2 separate regions of the Homo sapiens genome follow, and region 2 is linked to region 1. The links are contacts of gene promoters, found by promoter capture Hi-C in blood cells and fetal thymus (Javierre and others, 2016). All regions are on one chromosome and are shown on one strand. The core of a region is centred on a gene start or on the middle of the fragment in contact, and the rest is flanking DNA. Distances in the headings are between cores, read along the strand shown.

Region 1 (3,609 bases), core at 526-3,025:
TCCATTAGGAGAGGTGAGGAGAACCTGTCCTTGAAACAGAGAGCTCTGAAGCTTCCCACAGTTCAGCTCTGAATTGAGAGGGAGCTGGAGAGAGTGAGCTCAAACTTCGTAGCTGGGTTCAGCCCCAACTGCACAGGCAGGGAGGGGGCACAAGGTCCCCTGTCCACCGATGCTCCTCAGTTTTATTGATGGGTGTCAGGGGAGAGGCCAGAGGGGAGATCCTTCCAGAGCTGAATAAGTGCTAGCCACCTGCCCACCCATACAGCTACCTTTGCAGAGACTGCAGGCATTGCTGCAGGCTGACCTGTCCATCACTGTAGCTGTTTTGTTTCCTGCTCTATCCGCCTGTACCCAGAATACTATCTGGGCCAGAGCAGGGTCTCTGTACATGTATGCGGGTTGAATAATGGAATCCTTGCCAATTTACAGGGCCAAGGGAGCCCTGTGTGAAATCATAATGGCTCAAGAAAATGGTGGCCTAAATAAGCCATTTGTTCCCTCTCTGAGCTACAACTTTGTTGTGTGTAATTTAGTATAAAAATGTTTGGGTCAGAAAGCCACAAAGTGTAGTTCTTGTAGAAAACATACTTGGAGTGTGTGAAGCTGAGCCTTTCTGGTGCAGAGGCTGAGGGGGAGGCTTGCTCTGTGCCCAGAAGGCTACATCACCAGCATCTGTCCACACTCAAGATGGGGGAAAATAGAATATCCCAAAGTGATTAAATACTCAAAGTTCCAAAAACGTGACAGCATGTCAATGTTCAGTAATCACCATAAAGCTACAGCAGCTGCCCTTAGTAATTACTCTTTTTTTCTCTATCTTAATAAATATAAAACACAAAGCCACTGGAGATAGTTATGAAAGTGGTCTGAGGCAGCCCTAACTCAGAACTTTAGGAAGACAGCTCTACACAATTCTCCCTTTTCCAGATCTAGGTATCCTGCTTGTTTTTTGTTGTTGTTGTTGTTTTTAACTAATAGCAGGAATAATGGAAATGCAAACGCTGAACAGGACAATTTTCCTCTCTCTCTCTCTCTTTCTGAAGTATACACTGCATATGAAAAATGCTTCCAAAATTATACGTGCTAGAGAAAAAGAAGGTATCACCAAAAAAAAAAGTTTCTTCAGGAGAAAAAAAGAAAAAAGTAATATAGAGGAAAAATAATAAGATGATTTTTTCTACGCACCTCCCAAAATCACTTTCTTTTTAGACTGCAGATGACTGGTAACTTCAATTGCACTGCAGATGTTAGAAAAGCCCAGTATCTGAGTAAATGTGTATATCATGTTCCCTTTCTAGTCTTCTCACCTTCCACCCCTTGCCTGGCCACATTAATTAATAGTTAAAATGCTGATCATAGACACTTCGGTGAGGGTTTTAGCAAAACCTTCAAGTTGCAGCCCTGGCTCTAAAAATGGGACTGGTAATCACCACAAAAGTGAAAGACTAAGAGGAGGAAAACCCCAAATTTACACAGAAATACACACAACCCTATACATTCAAATAAAAAGAAGAAAATAAAGATAAGGTAAAAGTGTTTGTGCATGCGCACACACAGACACAATTGTTTAAGCCTGACTTCCAAACAACCATCAAAGAAAATCTCCCCTTCTGTTCTTCCCTGAGTGAAGGGCTTTCCTTACCATTCTGGACCACGCTGATGAGGGTGACGATGGCCAACAGGACAACATTGCCTACAGTTTCTTGATCCATGTTTGCTTCAGGCTCCCCAGAGAGGACTGCTCTGCCTCCAGCTGCACAACCTGCCCTGTACAGGAAGGGGAAGTGAGAGCTTGCACTCTTTCATCATTACAATTTCTGAAGATCCCCGGCACAATTACACAGTGCCTTCTTCTTCCTTTTTTTTTTTTTTTTTTTTTTTTTAACTAACCACCAAAATGCCCTGGCTGTGGTTCAGTGTGTCCCACCAGGAGAAGCAGGGCTTGGCAGAGGAGCACGCAAAGCCAGCACACTCTCCTACATTTCCTTGTCATGGGAAACTTCCCTGAGAGTCTCCAGAATGAATCCTGGACCCAAGACCATGACCAGCACGAGCCCAGCACAGGCACCAGAGAATCTGGAAGCTGCCATCATCTCTGACTTCAGCAAAGAGAAAGAAGGGAAAGTAAACCCAAAACTTTCAGGTCAGACAGAGTGGCATAAACCTGTAACCCCAGCATTTTGGGTGGCTGAGGTGGGAAGATTGCTTGGGCCCAGGACTTTGAGGCTACAGTGAGCCAATGATTATGCCACTGCACTCCAGCCTGGGCAACAGAGCAAGACTGTCTCACACACACACACACACGCACACACAAATGTAAAATGAAACTTTAAAAAAATGTATAGAACACCAAAAGATCTGTGCCCCAAATACTGTCCTTCTTTTTTTGAATTCCAAGAAAAAAAGTGAACACTTAACACACGGTAAGTAGCAGCCACATAAGGTTTGAATGAAGGAAGGAATAAATGGCAGTGGGGAGGGACAGCTGATATCTCCATTTCTTCAGAGAAAAGTAATAAAGGGAATTCATAAATTAAACCAAAGAATTCAAACCAAACCAAAGAATTCAGGTAAAAGGCAGAAATGGAGTTACAGATGATCCCTAAGGGAAATTCCCAAAGGGAACTGACTTTTCTGAGGCAATCGCAGAAACACCTTCCTGGAAATTCTTTTCAACTGAATAAGAGTAGAGTGGCTGTGCTTTCTGAGAAAGTATAAGAGTGGACCTGCTGGGTGGGTGAGGTGGCTGCCTGGTATTCTGCAGCTCAGATCAGTGTGAATGGCAATCCCTCTGAGGTTACATGGAAAATGCAAAATACCTGCAATCTTTGTCCCAGACTTAGCTATTTGGCATTGGTTAAGAGGTGCTTTTATCAAAACTTCACTTTGAAAGGGAACATGGACCACTGTAACTAGTGGCAGCAGGGAGGGCTGCATCTCGGCACGGAAGAGGTCAGTGTAGGGGAAGATATTGCTCCCTCATAGGTACAGTGCCAGAGGCCCGCTTCAATGCCCTCGGTTCAGCTGAGAGAGAAAGGCTGATGAAGGCAGCGTGCAGAGTTGTGTGCGGGGAAGCCAGCAGCCAGGGCTGTCGGGCTGGTCATGACACACTTGGGTACTCCCTGAGTACCTAGGGCACTTTGTAGAGTATAGACTTTATATTAGCCAAGGCTCTCCAGAGAAACTGAACCAATATATAAATAAGTCTCCTCATATATATATATTGCAGATTTATAATAGAAATTGGTTCACATGCTCATGGACACCATGAAGTTTCATGGTTTGCCATCTGCAAGCTGGAGACTCAGAAAAGCTGCTGGTGGAGACCAGTCTGCATTCAAAGGCCTGAGCATCAAGGAGGGCAATGGTGCAAGACCCAGTCTGAATCCAAAAGCTGGAGAACAAGGGGCTCCAGTGTCCAAGGGCAGGAGAAGATGGAGGGCAATGGTGCAAGACCCAGTCTGAATCCAAAAGCTGGAGAACAAGGGGCTCCAGTGTCCAAGGGCAGGAGAAGATGGATGGCCCAGCTCAAGAAGAAGAGGGAATTTGCCCTTCTGCCCGCTTTTTGTTCTATTCAGGCCCTCAGTGGATTGATGACACCCACCATAT
Region 2 (4,521 bases), core at 85-2,584, 610 kb after region 1:
AGAGAGGAGAATCAAGAATAACTTCAGATTTTTGGAATGAGTCATCGAGTGGATGGTGGTGCCACTCACAGAGACAAGGATGGCCAAGGTCAGCTTGGTCATGTCAGTGAAGGCGCTCATGAACCGTCTACATGGAGACCTCCAGGAGGCTGCTGGGCCCCAGAGCTGCAGTTTTGAGGGAATAGGGGAGAGACGACCGACTGCCTGCCTTCGTTCAGGTTTCCTGCCCATCCTCATGTGTCCTTTCAGAGGAGGAGAATTTCTGAACATCTGATGCCATGGAGGTGGAAGGAGCTGGTATTTTTAAAGTAGGAAGTATTAGGAAGTAAAGTTAAAATATTTATGAGTTTTCAAGGTATTTATAGTTGTAGGTTCCTTTGTGAGCTTAGGAGCACACAAGTCAATGAAGGAGGGCTTGTAGGCAGAGGCCGGCCTGGTGTGGGGTGGGCTATTGGAGCCCAAGCACTGTGACGGCTGTCCTTGGCAGGGTGGGAATCAGAGTAGGGAGAGGAGGACGAACCTCCCCAGGGAAGCGGGCCTGATGTGGGTGTCCCCACAGGCAGTGTGAGTGCAGGGTGCGTGGTTGTGGGGATGGGGGTTGGCCACCTACAAGGGGATTGGTCAAATGAAGGGATATATTAAGGTTAATAGGAATCCAGCTTCTCACTGTCAGGGAAAGGAGGAAAACTAGAGTTTCCAGTTGGATTAGAATTGGAGGTATTTGTGGGATCTCACAGTTTTCAATAAATAATGTATTCATCTTCTTGGGCTGCTCTCACAACATACTGCTGATTTAGTGGCTTAAACAACAGATATTTATTTTCTCACAATTATATTAGACACTATAATTTGGTAGTTAAGCCATTTTTAAACTATAACTTGGTAGCTATAGTTTAAAAATACTTCCTCATAAAATAATGATTATAACAAAGAGGAAATGAGTGATCTTCCAGAGAACATGACTGACACCAATCTAATGAGGTGATTAAAGTGAACATTATTAGTAATAGGACAAATCAAAATTTCCTGCCGCCTGATAGGATGCAATGAGAACACAGCATTGCATTTGTGAGATTTCTTCTGAAGATGTCTAACCTGTATGCAATCACAAGGGAACGTCACACAAACCCAATATGAGTGACATTATACTAAATAACTAGCTTGTCATCTTCAAAGTGTGGAGGTCTTGAGAGACAAGAGAAGACTGAGGAACACTTCCAGTCTGAAAGAGACCAAGGAGACAGAGCCTGCTAAGTGATTCAGAACCGGGTCCTTTATCTAGAGTGGGCCAAATGATGAGGCTTGAATGGGGTCCAGGGTTCTAATGCATCAACATTAATTTCCTATGTTGGTGGTGGCACGTGGCTATGTAGATGCAAGTCTTTGTTTGTAGGAAATATGCATGAAAATATTCAGGGGGCTGGTGCAGCAGATCGGCTATGCTGCTTATTCTCAAATGGTCCAGGAGCAAGAAAAGCTCTTTGAACTGAGCTTATAGTTCATGACTTAATAAAAAGTTTAAGACTATTTTATTCATATTTCATAAATCATAAAGCTGAGAGACCTTTCAGTCTAAATCACCTAAATTTTAGAGATGAGAAAACTCAGGCCCAAAGAACTTAAGTGAACTCCCCAAGGTCCCACAGCTAGTTAGTGAGGAAGCCAGCCCTGGTGCCCTTGCTTCCTGTGGGCTGGACCACAGAATGTTCCACTACATGCCCCTGAGGCTAGGGGACACCCAAGAGAAGAGGAATCATGAAAGCAGTTTATCTAGAGCTGGAAGCTCAAATTCATGGATAAAGATATTCAAGCACAGAGAAGCTAGGTAGCTTTACTGGACTTAGTTCCTTTACTGTGTATCTGGTACTACTTACTCTGCCCACATGTAGTCATCCTTTTCACAGGGATCATGCCAACGCTTTGCTAAAAAATGCAATCCTATGTCTAACGAAATTCCTTGACCTGCTAGTTTGGTAGCTGTATACAATTTATTCAAAATGTTGTGTCATATTTAGGTTTATAACCCATAATAGACTCTTCATGGTACCACTTTCTTTACTTCTGCTCATAAGTCATCTACTTAACACTCAGTTCTAGAATTGCCTTGGCAATGGATATAGCACTTGAGTTCTGCTTAGTTTGTTCTTAGAAGCACATGGTTGGGTTCACCACATTCTTCAGTTCATGATGCACTGGATCATTGGCTCCTCAGAGCCCCATCTCATTCATTCATGTGTGCAGGCAGGCATTTATTTTATTGGCCTCCATTCCCCATTTCTTTTCTCCTGTCCCTCACAGGCAACTATTCTAATGTGTTCCCTGTTTGTAGTTATCAGCATGTGTTCTCTCAAAAACAAAGTGTTTAAAGGCACATATCGTTGAAGGCACACAAACATCCTCTAGCTCATCACTTCTCATTTCTTGACTCAACACTATCCTTTCAAAGCTCCGTTCATGTTGCCGCGTGTACATGTCGTCTGTTCCTCCCAACTCTGATAGAGTATTTCAGAGTGTACCTTTTTCACTTGTGCTCCTCCACCTCCATGGATGACACCTACTGCCACAGAAAGAACTGCAGCAAGTCTCTTTGTGCATGGTCCCTTAGGGTGTGTGGAAGGATTTTTTCTATGATTCATGTCCAGGGGTGGTATTGTTGGGAAATAGAAGACAGGTACATTTAATTTGATGAAGTATTGCTCTCCAAATTGGCTGTACCAGTCTACAAACCCCCAGCAAGGCCCAAGAATTCCAACATTCCTACATCCCCACCACCACTTGACATTATCCAGTTTCCTGGTTTTGGCCAGTTGAGTGAATAGAAGTGATATCTCATTGCTATTTAATTTGTATTTCTCTACTAATGAGTTTAAACATCTCTTCACATGCCTGTTATTCAGGGGGGTTTCCTCTCCTGCAAATTGCCTCTTCTGAGCCTTTGTTTTTTGAGCAGAGGGGGTTTCCATCATTTTTGTTGATTTGCAAGGTTCTTGCATATTTTAGATACTGTTTCCTAGTTATTTTTGACATTGCAAGTGTCTTCTCCCAATCTTTCATCTGTCTCATAACCTTGTTCTTCTTTGAATAGAACCCTTTGAGTGGGATGTGTTCAAATTCATTAAGCTTTTCCCTTATGCTTTGCACTTTTGAGGTTTTGTTTAAGAAGCATTTCCCCACCTCTAGGCCTCCAAGATCCTCTCTGGGACACTGCAGCTGCTTTCAAATTGAATGTGACAACAAGCACATGTTGTGTGCTTTGCACCTGCACAACCTCTTCCTCATGGTTGGACCTGCAACTTTAGCTTCAAGCCTGGCATCTGAGTCTGGGCCTCTTATCGATGAGGATACAAACCCTTCCCTACTGTTGTCCACACAATCCTCACCAGCATGTGTTATGCTTCAACCCCAGATATTCATGCCCCTCCTGCACCTCTCTGCTAATGTCACACTTTCTCCTTTTTCCAAAGTGCTTTTTGCTCTTCCCTTCACTAGATTTGGCCATCTTTCAAAGCCTGCTTCTTCAAAAACAAAACCAAAAACTGGTGAATCTAGCCTTCTTTGATCCCTTTGTTTCTACCCTTTTATCCATATTTTAAAAATCATGATTGGAACCTTATTTCCTAACGATTACATGTGTGCTCTGCTTTCTCCCTGGGGATCATCGTCCATCTTATATTTATTTTGCCCATGGCTCCTGGGCAGTGCTCTTAGGAGGCACCTAATAAATGCTCTCTCTCCAAATTCAAGCTGCTGCCAAAGACCGATTACTTAAGCCTCCAAAACCTTTTTAAAAATGCATTCCTTCCTCTCCATCTCCAAAGCCACATCCGTGCCTGGGTTTAATCATTGCACGCTCAGACTTTTACAACCTTGTGTGCCTTCTTTCTTCCTGTCTGCCTCGGCTCCAGTGAGAGCTGAGAACAGCCGCAAAATCACCCAGCCTCAGAATCTGGGTTCAAAGAATCTTACACAGCATTGAATCCACCCTGCCTCAGGGCTTGAATTCTCTTGACAATATTCACATTCCTAACAAATGGCTGCACAGTCTCTGCTTGAATACCTTCAGCCACGGTGGAGTCACTATCTTCTGAGGCTGTCCATTCCCTCTTTGTCCAGACAGTGCTTCCTTATTTCAAGCTGAAACTCGCCACCTTGCATCTTACAACTGGAATCCTAACTTTTCCTGTTGGTACCATTCAGAAAACTCTTAATGCCTCTTTTGGTAAATGTATCTCCCAAATTGTGGTGCTCAGAACCAAACACAGTATGATCAAGTGAAGAATGAAAGAGAACTCTCTTCTCTTACCCTGTGTTAGTTTCCTGGGGCTGCTATAACAAATTTACTGCAAACTTAGTGGCTTAAAACAACAGATATTGTCCAGGCACGGTGGCTCATGCCTGTAATCCCAGCACTTTGGGAGGCCCGGGGGGGCGGATCACGAGGTCAGGAGATTGAGACCATCCTGGCTAACATGGTGAAACCCTGTTTCTACTAAAAATACAAAAAATTAGCCTGGCCTGGTG

The links. Contacts are between HindIII fragments. The CHiCAGO score rates a contact against its expected background, and 5 or more counts as called.
Region 2: a contact is called between a fragment that was not itself captured here and the fragment with the promoter of ALOX5AP in region 1, in 1 of 17 cell types (fetal thymus). The highest score is 5.0, in fetal thymus.

What each region holds. Positions count from the first base shown.
Region 1 is chr13:30,733,709-30,737,317 of GRCh38, reverse strand. ALOX5AP (arachidonate 5-lipoxygenase activating protein) reads right to left here and starts at 1,775. Exons shown (of 5, transcript NM_001629.4): 1 at 1,643-1,775. The coding sequence starts at 1,712. The region is part of intron 2 of LOC124903146 (a long non-coding RNA gene); the gene reads left to right. The HindIII fragment of the contact is 8,013 bases long and covers 54-3,609 here.
Region 2 is chr13:30,119,034-30,123,554 of GRCh38, reverse strand. No RefSeq gene overlaps it. Among named protein-coding and RNA genes, the nearest start is that of LINC00365, 12 kb to the right of the region's middle. The HindIII fragment of the contact is 3,577 bases long and covers 1-3,122 here.